2 separate regions of the Homo sapiens genome follow, and region 1 is linked to region 2. Evidence: promoter capture Hi-C in 16 types of primary human blood cells and fetal thymus (Javierre and others, 2016). All regions are on one chromosome and are shown on one strand. Each heading gives the region's core, a stretch centred on a gene start or on the middle of the fragment in contact. The rest is flanking DNA. Distances are from core to core; before and after follow the strand shown.

Region 1 (6,500 bases), core at 3,649-6,148, 240 kb after region 2:
CTGATATTCCAAATCTTATATAAAAATCTAAAATCTTAGACAAAGTAGATGTATCTGCAAACACTACCCAAATACCATGACTTCTGTTTTTCTTTTAATCTAGGGAACATTTCTGCTTTTGCTGTGTAAAATTACCTATATAGTGAGAAGACACTTGATCAAACTATAAATGCTAGCTAGGTATCTTTTAAAACCAAGATTGTCATATAAATCAGGAAAACCTCGCAATATAGCCTAAGTGTTCACTAAATAAACTAATGATAAACAACAGGAGTAAAAAAGCAAAATAAATTCTCATATATTTTAAGAAGCTGATTATTCAGTACTTTTATTATTTAGGTCTTTAGTTTTCCAATTCTCTCCTCTATGTTCAACTTCTGCACACTCTGATTTTAACCAATTGTACACAGAAGGAAAATAAGAAACTCAAATCTATTACTATGGAACTTGAATAAACAAAAAGTGAAACCAACCAATTAAAGTTTAATTCATTTATGTAATCTCTGACTTTATTCATCAGAATAAAAATTTCTAGAGCTCAAATAAATCCAATATAAATGTAAACAAAAAAGAACAGTCTTTCCTATATCAGAAGAAAATAACCCCTAACACAGCTTCTTATATCTCTAGACCTGTTTTAATTCTCTAATAAACATCTAAACGGGTCTTAATTTGCATGCATGAAAGAAAAACCCAGCATTTTTTAATTTATACTATTTAATATCATAAAAAATACATAATTGAGAAGTGATCTAATTCAACTCTTATTTCCAACCACTAAATTTACCTCCTCCTTGACTTCTTCTTCTTCAGTCTCAGTGGATATAGATGGTACCTTGGGCTTGTGCCATGATATCTGTAGCCGACGGTCTTTAAATTTTGGCCCTTGGTTTGCGGTCTAAAATATATATTAGAAGAACATACAAGTTTGCACTCAAATTTACTAATGATTTCTGCAAATTCTGTGTTATTTAAAAAGTATAACATAGGGCAGGAGAGAAATCTGTTAAGGTGGATCTACAATCTCCAATGAGAGCTAAAAAAAATAAAGTCCCTTTTAATTAGAGCAACTATATGTTCTGGTTTGCCTAGGATAACCCATGGTTTATATCTGTGTCAGGTAAATGTTAGCATCTGTCTTGGTTGAAGAAATAATTTTTTTTCTAAGTAGAGTTGCTCTACTTACAAAAGTCATGATGAGGACAAGAAATATTCTTAATACAGGTATTGACCTTTGGCTTTGATATCTACATATATAGACTCAAACCTTAGAAAAAAGGTGAATCATCTGCTTATTCATCTCACTGCATCTCTCACAGCCCCACCTATGTTGGATAAAGTTCTTCTTATTTCCACTTCTGAAACGCTATACACTAATAAGCACCTCCCAGCTCATCTATGCATTCAATAAACATTAAACAAATGCCTAATACTATCCTAACTCATAAAACTGCTCCATTTCAAATGTTACTTGGTACTAATTTTTAAACATTTTTTTCTCCCCAGCAAATTCCAATAGGGGAAAGCAAATTTTAAAGACAAAGCAACACAGACAAGGGACTAGGGATCCAAAGTTTCAGAAAAGTAGAAGTTTAGCCATCCCTATAGCTTTCCTATCAAAGGTCCTCATTTATAGAACTGGGGGTTCTAAAAAACATAATAGAAGAGATTCTTTTTTATTTGGGCTTTCATTCTAGTCTATCTAGCAAAATCATTGCTAAACCTCCTGAAGCATTTGCCAAATGTTTCCATAAAACACTTGGAGCATAGCATGGTGAGAATGTACATTAGAGCAGACTCATAAATCCATTACTGCCTGCACAGACATCGTCCTGTGTTCTAAGGGAAAAATTCCCACCATTCCTTGAAGGGTCTAAATGCTCATAACCTAACACCAAACATTATGACTCATGGGACATACCAAACTGATGTATCAAAATAGCCCTACCAAATATAGATATGTACCTTTTTTTTTTCTTTTTGAGACAGGGTCTTGCTCTGATTCCCAGGCTGGAATGTGCAGTGGGAAGATCACACTCACTGCAGCCTCGACTCCCTGGGTCCAAGTGATCCTCCCACTTCAGCTTCCCAAGGAGCTGAGACCACAGGCATGCACCACCTCACCTGGCTAATTTTTTTATTTTTATAGACGGGGTCTCCCGATGTTGCCCAGGCTGGTCTCAAACTCTTGGGCTCGAGGAATTCTCCCACCTTAGCCTCCCAAAGTGTTGGAATTACAGGCACGAGCCACAGCACCTGGTCTATATTTACCATCTTTTAAAAATTAGGTAATGTACGTAACAGAGATCCTTTACCCTTTACTCTATCCTTTAACACACAGCCCAATTATAGAGAGGCTTTCCCTGCTTGTTTTGTTCATTTCTTTATTATTTGAATTTCTAAATAAAAACATATTACTTTTATAAACAGAAAAAGTAATAAAGATTTTTAAATCTGTAATAACTGTGTTGCTCTCCAAAGAGGATAAGAGGTCTGTCCTCCAAAAGGAATATTAAGGCATTAAATGTATTGCATATACATTATTAAAGGAAGAATAAGAAATGTATACAGAGTCTGAAATTAAGAACAAATAATTTCTACTATCTAACTTACAACAAATCAAATAAATTAGCAATTAGAATAAAGATATATTATGACGCTACCAAGTTAGGAATTCTCATACACAAATGGTGAGAATCTCAAACTGATTCTAAACTGGTAAGAATCTAAAACTGATGGGGTTCACTCAGCAATTCCACATACAGTCATCACTTGGTGTTTCTGGGGGACTGGTTCCAGGACTCTCTGTGAATACCAAAATCCATGAATGCTCAAGTCATTTACATAAAATAGTGTAGTATTAGCATGTAATCTACACACATTCTCCTATATACTTTGAATCCTCTCTAGATTACTTATAATATCTAATGCAATGTAAAAGCTATGTAAATAGTTGTTATACTGTATTGTTTAGGGAATAATGACAAAAAATGTACATGCTCAGTACAGATGCAACCTTTCATTTTTTTCCCAATATTTTTGATCCAAAATAGGTTGAATCCATGGAGGTGAAACCCACACATATGAAGGGCCAACTGTATATCCAAGAGAAATGGTGTGTACATGTGTAGTTAAAAACATGTATAAGATAGCAACACTGCTTACAAAAGCCACATAGTAGAAATAACCCAAACATCCATCAGTAAGAGGATGAGGCTGGGTGCGGTGGCTCACGCCTGTAATCCTAACACTTTGGGAGGCCGAGGTGGGCGGATCACCTGAGGTCAGCAGTTCAAGACCAGCCTGTCCAACATGGAGAAACACCATCTCTACTAAAAATACAAAAATTAGCCAGGGGTACTGGCACACGCCCATAATCCCAGCTACTCAGGAGGCTGAGGCAGGAGAGAATCGCTTGAACCCATGAGGTGGAGGTTGCCAAGAGCCGAGATCGCGCCACTGTGATCTGGCCTGGGCAACAGAGTGAGACTCCATCTCAAAAAAAAAAAAAAAAAAAAAGATGAAAAATAAACTGTGGTATATTGATACAACTATTATATAGTAATAAAAATGGCAAATTAATGTTACATGTAAAAACATGAATGAGTCTCACAAACATTAAACAGAAGAAGCCAAGCACAAAAGAATATACACTGTGTGATTCCATTTACATAACATTTTAAAAACAGGCAGAATACTACTCTAATATTTAGGAATGCATATTTAGGTGATAAAACTACAGTCAATTCTCATTACTTGCAGTAGTTTTGTTCTAAAAAGTTGATGCAAACATTTAACTGGCAAATAGCCACTACTTATAGGGGAAATAGAATTAGACTCTTATGAGCCTCTAGAGCAACCTTGTCCAACCTGTGGCCCATGGGCCACATATGGCCCAGGATGGCTTTGAATGCAGCCCAACACAAATTTCATAAACTTTCTTAAAACACTATGAGATTTTTTTTTCCTGTTCATCAGGTATCATTAGTGTTAGTGTATTTTATGTGTGGCCCAAGACAATTATTCTTCTTCCAGTGTGGTCCAGGGAAGCCAAAAGATTGGACACTCCTGTTTTAGAGGGTCACAACATTTTTGTCAGCTAATCAACACAAACTTTGGTTTTATGTGTTTCTGTTGAAAGACATCTTATTTAATATATGTTACTGATTCATTAACATTGAACTCATGGCCAAAAGCACTCACTCATGCCTGAACAAAGCTTAACTAACACATGTATCTTTGTAAGGCATATCACAGCCTTGCACTTAGGAACACTAGACAGGACTTTAGAACTACATTCGGGGGCCATTTAAAACAGTTTAATCACCAAGAAAACAAAAAAAATTGAGAAAAATGTGGCATTAAATAGACTGCAAAGGCTGGGCGCAGGGGCTCACGCCTGTCATCCTAGCACTTTAGGAGGCCGATGTCAGGAGTTTGAGACCAACCTGGCCAACATGGTGAAACCTCGTCTCTACTACTAAAAATACAAAAATTAGTTGGGTGTGGTGGTGGGCGCCTGTAATCCCAGCTACTAGGTAGGCTGAGGCAAGATAATCACTTGAACCCGGGAGGCGAAGGCTGCAGTGAGCCAAGATCATGCCACTGCACTCCAGCCTGAGTGACAGAGCGAGACTCTGTCTCAAAAATAAATAAATAAATAAATAAAACAAATAGACTGCAAAAGGGGCATTTGTTTACAGTATAAAAGCTGAAACAAGAAGGCATAGCACCACCTTATTTCTATCTCAGCTGAAAACGGGCTCATGAGGGGACTGGCAACTGTGTGTATGTCTGAGAATGACCACAAAACACCATAAGTATTGATTTTGGGGTTACAAATAAATTTTAGTGAGTAGATGAATTGGCAAATGTGGAATCTGAAAATAATAAGGATTGACTGTATAAAGAAAGCAAGGTGACTATCATAAAGTGAGGCTAACAGTTACTGCTCTGAGAAGGAGAGAAGATAGATAGAGGCTGGAGGGAGCAACAAGGGAGATTGGGGTATTGGAAATGTTCTATTTCTTGACCTGAGGTATAGGTATATTAGGTGTTTGCCTTCTCATAAATCATTGAACTATATGTTTATGATCAGTATAGTTGGTTTTTATAAACATTTTTAGTTGACTATAGGTATAACCTTTAAAAATTTTAAGGAAATAGGTCGGGCGTGGTGGCACATGCCTATAATCCCAGCCCTTTGAGGCTGAGGCAGGTAGATCACCTGAGTTCAGGAGTTTGAGACCAGCTGGCCAACATGGTGAAACCTCATCTCTACTAAAAATACAAAAATTAGCTGGGCGCGGTGGTGCATGCCTATAATCCCAGCTACTCAGGAGGCGAAGAAAGGAGAATCCCTGAACCTGGGAGGTGGAGGTTGCAGTGAGCTGAGATCGTACCACTGCACTCCGGCCTGGGTGACAGGTGACTTGAGACTCTGTCTCCAAAAAAAAAAAAAATTAAAGGAATACCAGATAGCTAAGATTTTTATGTGAAAAAGGCAAGGTTTGGAATGCAGCCCTGTATGTATAATACGATCACATTTTCGTAAATGTTTTTAAAGTGAGAAGCTTTATATATGTTTTCTTACATACATAGTATTTTTCTATAAAGATACCTAAGAATAGTGACTATCTTTTAAGAATGGAAAAAGATTAATAAAAGGGAGATTTTACTTTTATTAGTCATACTTTTTTTTTTTTTTTTTTTGAGACAGAGTCTTGCTCTATTGCCCAGGCTGGAGTGCAGTGGCGCAATCTGGGTTCACTCCAACCTCCACCTCCTGGGCTCAAGCAATTCATGTGCCTCAGGCTCCCGAGTAGCTGCGACTACAGGCAGATGCCACCACAGCTAGCTAATTTTTGTATTTTTTGTTGAGATAGGGTTTTGCCATGTTGGCCAGGCTGGTCTCAAACTCCTGAGGTCAGGTGATCCACCCGCCTCGGCCTCCCAAAGTGCTGTGATTATAGGCGTGAGCCACCGTACCTGGCCCTAGTCATCCTTTTAACCATTTGCATACATTATATTTTTATTTTTAAAAGTTTTGTTTTTTTTTTGTTTTTTTGTTTTTTAGACAGAGTCTCACTCTGTCGCCCAGGCTGGAGTGCAGTGGCGCGATCTCGGCTCACTGTAACCCGCCTCCCAGGTTTAAGTGATTCTCCTGCCTCAGCCTCCTGAGTAGCTGGGACTCCAGGTGCACGCCACCATGCCCGGCTAATTTTCTGTATTCTTAGTAGAGATGGGGTTTCACTGTGTCAGCCAGGATGGTCTCAATCTCCTGACCTCGTGATCCACCCACCTGGGGCTCCCAAAGTGCTGGGATTACAGGTGTGAGCCACCGCACCCAGCCCTAAAAAGTACTTTTTAAAAAAATCTAGGATTAATCTCTTAACATATTTGTTACTTATTACAGTACCTAATTGTTCTACACATACATATACATTCTCTCACATACACATCTAAATATGGTTTAAAATGATAAAATATTGGGAAAAAAG
Region 2 (6,841 bases), core at 2,102-4,601:
GGGTTGTTTCCAGCATTTTGTGGGGATGAGGTTGTTTCCAGTTTCCATCTCAAATAATTCTCAATTGTTTTTAATTGTTCTGCTCTATCCACCCCATCCATATCATTTTTCCCCAGAATCCCTTCTATCCAACAGGAGAGGTTCATATACTAGGCACCTCCCCAAAATAAATAAAAATAAGGAAACCTGACAAATGTTCACCACATCTACAACTGAATTCTATGTTTTAAGTGAATATGCTATAAACAAAGATTCAAATAACTTCCACTTATAATGCAAATAAAGACTTCTTTTATGTTTGCTAATTACATTTATCCTTTATACGGAAATAATTTTAAAATGAAGAAAATGTAGATACAAGCCACATATAACATCCATCAGATACTCAGATATACAAGGGCTAATATTCAAAGTAAAATGTGAAACTTGGGTAGTATGGTCTGAATCTTTATGTGCCCTCCAAAATCACATGTTGAAATTTTCAGCCGGGCGCAGTGGCTCAAGCCAGTAATTCCAGCACTTTGGGAGGCCGAGGCGGGCGGATCACGAGATCAGGAGATCGAGACCATCCCGGCTAACACGGTGAAACCCCGTCTCTACTAAAAATATAAAAAAAAATTTAGCCAGGCATGGTGGCGGGCACCTGTAGTCCCAGCTACTCAGGAGGCTGAGGCAGGAGAATGGCATGAACCCAGGAGGCAGAGCTTGCAGTGAGCCAAGAGTGCGCTACTGCACTCCAGCCTGGGGTGACAAAGTGAGACTGTGTCTCAATAAATAATTAATCGGTGAACTCAGATGAAGTATATAGGGCAATTCTTTGTGCTCTTCTTGCATTTTTTCTCTATACATTTGCAATTATTTTTATTTTTTTATTTTTTAAGACAGAGTCTCTCTTTGTCACCCAGGCTGGAATGCAGTGGGACCATCTCGGCTCACTGCAACCTCAGCCTCCCAGATTCAAGCAATTCTCCCGCCTCAGCCTCCCGAGTAGCTGAGACTACAGGCATGTGCCACCACACCTGGCTAATTTTTGTATTTTTTAGTAGCGACGGGGTTTCACTATGTTGGCCAGGCTTGTCTTGAACTCCTGACCTCGGGTGATCCACCTGCCTTGGCCTCCCAAAGTGCTGGGATTACAGGTGTGAGCTACCGTGCCCAGAAGCAATTATTTTTAAATAAAAAGTTAAAATAAATTTCCCCCAAAAGAGCGGAGAAAGTTCATTATCCTTCAGTCCAAAGACTTTATCTCTAGCTGGAGCACCAGGAGATGCTTCCCTGAGTCAGTACCAATAGACTTGGGAAGTACCACATGACAGTCTTTAGTTTCCCTCAATTGTCTATTAAGAATCAAATTTCCATGGTATTAAAGGTGGCTTGAACCCATTTAGCTTTTTATCTTATACAGCTTCAGGAGGCTTGAATATCATAATCTTGAATATATAAGCCACAGTGTGAAGCAGTATATTTGTTTCTTGGTTCTGAATGAATCTCTTCCACATACATCAAGTGAACTACCTTCCTTGTAGTCTACAATCTGCAAAACATCACTCTGCTCCCTCCCCCATTTTCTTCCCTGTAAGACGTTGCGGGCCTCTTCACACCCAAAAGTGATGCTTGTTGAGACTCAAGGATATTTCATCCTTAAGTAGTTACTGGGAGTTACTGTGCCTTGCTGGAATAAGGTGTTGCCCCAATTTACTGTTCTATAGGAACAACTACTTCCCAGAGGTAAAAGGAAGGAAAGCAAAAGGAAATAGAAATGGAAACAAAGGAACCCAGCACCACTGACCACTGTCCCAATAGCTATACTGATCACTACTTATTTATTTTCTAGGACACTGAAGAATTTTAAAACGTCAGACCCTTCTTTACTTGCGAAAAACGTGAAAGCACAGTACCAGAATCCAGAGATCTGAATGCAGCAGCATACTCTCCTGTATATCATGCTTTAGCTTTTCTGACTAGCCACACTCAATGTAGCATGTATCTTCATATCAACCCCACAAACCCCATTCTCTGAACATTTTGAGCTCCTCTAATCCCCCCAGAGTATCCATTGCTTATTTTAAAATTTCAGGGCTAGTTCTACCAAATCATCTTATCTGAGAATTTTTTTATTTCTAGAGACAGAGGATCACTCTGTCACTCAGGTTGGAGTGCAGCAGCACAGTCATAGCTCACTGCAACCTCGAACTCCTGGGCTTAAGCAACCCTCTCACCTCAGTCTCTTAAGTAGCTAGGACTACAGGTGTACACCATCATGGCTGACTTTTTTTTTTTTCTTTTTTTTTTTTTTCTTGTTTGTTTGGTAGAGGTGGGGGCAGGGGTCTCACTTTGTTGCCCAGGCTGGTCTCGAACTTCTGGCCTTAAGCAATCCTCCCGCCTCCACCTCCCCAAATTCTGGGATTACAGGCATGAGCCAGTGTGCCCAGCACAAAATCTTTACCAACTTTAAAATATAATTTAAAAAAATCTCTTAAATGCCTTCCACATAGATATTGATTTTTCTTTCATTTCTCTTGTCTTGGTAAATCCTCTAGGAATGCTCTCTGAAAAGCAGCTTAATTCATCATGCAGTTGCCTTCATCACCATCACTTGTTGAAAAGTCTTATTAGTATGTAAAGCAGTTCTAATTTGGAGCTGTAAAATTGCTTCTAAAAACTCGTAATAGAATAAACTGAGAGTCATCCATAATTAGATTTTTTTAATAGGACTTCTAACTTGTTTTCATTATCCAGCTGTGTTTGAACTCAGCCAGCTGTTGATGGAACTGAGGTGGTTGTAAGGGTTGGGGAAAAGAAGAGGAAGCTCATCTCTGCAGAGTGGGTAGGGGAAGCTTTAGTTCTCAGTTTAAAACAGTGGTTCTCAAAGTGTGGTCTCCCAACCTGCAGCATCAGAGTCTCATGGGAACTTGTTAGAAATGATTTCTTGGGCCCTACTCCAGACCCACTGGATCCGGCCATCAGGTGAAGTTCAAAGAACTTGGTTCAGATGTAGTGTTCACTAAATTACAGACAGCAGTCAAGATTTTAGGAAGAGCTGGTTGAAAATAATTGCCTTGACTGGCTCTAGTGACCCCCCAAGGAACACATGCCACTTACATGTATGTTCTCTTCATTCATCATTTATGGGTATATTTGTATTACTCCACAGGGCTGACGATTTGGTATTAGACTTGCTAATGAGCAGCAGCCATGTGCTCCTGCTATCTGACAGTCGGTACAGTCACAAGTATATTGTATGCAGCAGAGAAGAGCTTAACAGCCAGCCTCCTTCCACATTCTGCTCTCAGGAAATAAGCAAGGGGAGGATCCAGAAGTGTCATTTGACACTGACGACAGAGTACTTATTTCCTATGCAAAAGAGCCCAGGCAGAAAGACAAACCTAAATAAGAATCTAACTTCTGTAAGAAGCTGTGAAGAGTGATGCTGGCAGCTGCCTTTGCAGACTCTAACTCCAGCAGCATGAATGTGTCCTTTGCTCACCTCCACTTTGCCGGAGGGTACCTGCCCTCTGATTCCCAGGACTGGAGAACCATCATCCCGGCTCTCTTGGTGGCTGTCTGCCTGGTGGGCTTCGTGGGAAACCTGTGTGTGATTGGCATCCTCCTTCACAATGCTTGGAAAGGAAAGCCATCCATGATCCACTCCCTGATTCTGAATCTCAGCCTGGCTGATCTCTCCCTCCTGCTGTTTTCTGCACCTATCCGAGCTACGGCGTACTCCAAAAGTGTTTGGGATCTAGGCTGGTTTGTCTGCAAGTCCTCTGACTGGTTTATCCACACATGCATGGCAGCCAAGAGCCTGACAATCGTTGTGGTGGCCAAAGTATGCTTCATGTATGCAAGTGACCCAGCCAAGCAAGTGAGTATCCACAACTACACCATCTGGTCAGTGCTGGTGGCCATCTGGACTGTGGCTAGCCTGTTACCCCTGCCGGAATGGTTCTTTAGCACCATCAGGCATCATGAAGGTGTGGAAATGTGCCTCGTGGATGTACCAGCTGTGGCTGAAGAGTTTATGTCGATGTTTGGTAAGCTCTACCCACTCCTGGCATTTGGCCTTCCATTATTTTTTGCCAGCTTTTATTTCTGGAGAGCTTATGACCAATGTAAAAAACGAGGAACTAAGACTCAAAATCTTAGAAACCAGATACGCTCAAAGCAAGTCACAGTGATGCTGCTGAGCATTGCCATCATCTCTGCTCTCTTGTGGCTCCCCGAATGGGTAGCTTGGCTGTGGGTATGGCATCTGAAGGCTGCAGGCCCGGCCCCACCACAAGGTTTCATAGCCCTGTCTCAAGTCTTGATGTTTTCCATCTCTTCAGCAAATCCTCTCATTTTTCTTGTGATGTCGGAAGAGTTCAGGGAAGGCTTGAAAGGTGTATGGAAATGGATGATAACCAAAAAACCTCCAACTGTCTCAGAGTCTCAGGAAACACCAGCTGGCAACTCAGAGGGTCTTCCTGACAAGGTTCCATCTCCAGAATCCCCAGCATCCATACCAGAAAAAGAGAAACCCAGCTCTCCCTCCTCTGGCAAAGGGAAAACTGAGAAGGCAGAGATTCCCATCCTTCCTGACGTAGAGCAGTTTTGGCATGAGAGGGACACAGTCCCTTCTGTACAGGACAATGACCCTATCCCCTGGGAACATGAAGATCAAGAGACAGGGGAAGGTGTTAAATAGATTTAAGTTTCAAAGCAAAACAAACTGTGATTATTGTATTTACTTGTACTGCTGCTTATCAATATTGCTGACTTTACAAACTGATATAATTATTACCATTAGGAATTATAAAAATATTTCACAATCTACACTTTCCAAATGTGCAATGTGGTAAGTAGAGAACCATGTTAGAAGTAATAATTGTTTCAGAATTAGAACTTGGCTTCCCAAACAATTTAAGTGTTGTGTAAAGATGTTGCTGTCAAAGTGATTAGACAGCCTGGCTATTCTGTCATTTGTTCACAGTGGTTTTACTGGGTACCCCCTAGGACCAGCCCTGTAGTGGACCGGCTGGAGCCTGCAGTAGAGGTTCTGTCAAAGCTGAGCCCCTTTACCTTCAGTTTCACCCAGGACCTGCTAGTCCTAATTTTACCTACTAAATTGTATTTCACATAACCAAAGCTCAAAATCTACTTTCACTTGAGATTTTTAACACATTAATGATAAATTTTAATGCGTTCTTCATTTACTTAATAAGTGTTAATTTACTTGATGAAAAGTCCGTATCATAATGTTCATGACTGAAGGTCAAAGAAAAAGAAACAGCACCTTATTCCAATTCTGGACTCATTTCAAGCCATGGCTGGTTCTGGCCAAGTTTAAATAAATTCAAACTTAAACTAAAGCCTGCTTCAGTGAACTTTTTAAAGCTACCTGAATGAGTCTTCAGTTTCTAAGTCTAAGAATTGTAGCAGCTTTCCAATGACATTCAGTAGTCTGATATGGGGGAAAAAATACTTAAAAAAATGTCCTCTCTTCACTTCCAAAATGTGGGAAAGTTATTTTTCTATAAGCAGAAATGTGTTCCTCCTAATATCTCCTTTCTCCCAAGATAAACCATGGTTAATGATATAGGTATAGATTACTCCTCAAATACAAATAGAAGATGGAGATGGTGATCTTTCTTGTTAATGGTACTAAACTTACCCTTACTCAGAACATTGAACTTGAACCCTACTCAACTTTTAAAATACTATAGGCTAAGTTATAAAAATAATCTAGCAACCTGAGAAAGAGATTAATATCAAAAAGAGAAAATTCAACAAACCAAGACAGAATTTGGTTAAGAATACAAAATAAAAAGCATAAGGGCAATGCAGAAAGCAGTAAAACTGTGTACCCAGACATACGGTAAAATCTGAGTAACAGGCAATAACCATTCATTTTATAGCAAGGTAAAACATACCCAATAAAACATGATTATGATATATTTCTGCCCCTTTTAAGTATAATGACATTCACCCATGATTCTTGATTACTTTGTTATGGAACTCGGGTATTTTCACTGAAAGTTTCCCTCAGAATAGAAATGCCTTTAGGGCAAACCAAGCCATGGAGAATCTGAAATATAAAGGATATGTTATGGAAAAAAAAAGATTTTGCTTTTTGTCTATGGGTTTCCGGATTCTTTGCTTTTTCATAAGTGGTCATAGTTTGCTTTTTAACACAGGAGGTAGGGCTGTATTCTTTTTACATCCTTCATTACAAATTTTATTTGAAGCTCATGTATTCAAATAAAGTAAAATTTAACCCAAGAATCCAAAATATTGTCTTGTGATATGGTAGTTATAAAAAGGATTATCATTGTCTGTGATTATTTGAATAAATAATTTTTATGTTCATTATATGTAGTAAATTTAGGATGTAAGCTTCCAGGGTTTGACACTTTAAACTTGTAAAGAAATAAAAATAATTACGCTTTACTTCCGATAGTTTTTGGAGATTTAAAGCTGTCTTTGTCTTGAATTATCATTCCAAAATCATTATTAGGAACAATGGAGCTTTATGGGGCTGTTTGACCTTAACACTGGAACAGGTCTCAAGGTGAACTGATTTTCAGAGTTTGCTAACAAGCACCAAATCAAGATGCAGACACTGGAACAAAGAGTAATTACAATGAACCTTTCATTAAGAACCTGATACACAAAGTTAAGTCCCGACTTGATCCCTTAAAAAATCTGCTTAGAGAAGTTTGATTTGTATCTTATCTGATCAAACCCAGATACTTTAAGACAAAAGTAGGAAATTAGAACAGATATCACCAAACTGTTTTCTTCTCACTTCTCTACTGTGAGAAACAACGTAGTAAGTGGGCAAACAATATTATGTGGAATT

What was found. Contacts are between HindIII fragments. The CHiCAGO score rates a contact against its expected background, and 5 or more counts as called.
Region 1: a contact is called between a fragment that was not itself captured here and the fragment with the promoter of GPR151 in region 2, in 1 of 17 cell types (monocytes). The highest score is 6.6, in monocytes.

Annotation. Positions count from the first base shown.
Region 1 is chr5:146,279,020-146,285,519 of GRCh38, reverse strand. All of the region lies in intron 18 of RBM27-POU4F3 (RBM27-POU4F3 readthrough), which reads right to left. It overlaps RBM27 (RNA binding motif protein 27), which reads right to left. Exons shown (of 21, transcript NM_018989.2): 20 at 788-898. Among named protein-coding and RNA genes, the nearest start is that of POU4F3, 57 kb to the left of the region's middle. The HindIII fragment of the contact is 1,354 bases long and covers 4,222-5,575 here.
Region 2 is chr5:146,512,700-146,519,540 of GRCh38, reverse strand. It overlaps GPR151 (G protein-coupled receptor 151), which reads left to right and starts at 3,351. Exons shown (of 1, transcript NM_194251.3): 1 at 3,351-6,397. The coding sequence starts at 3,428. The coding sequence ends at 4,687. The HindIII fragment of the contact is 3,538 bases long and covers 2,840-6,377 here.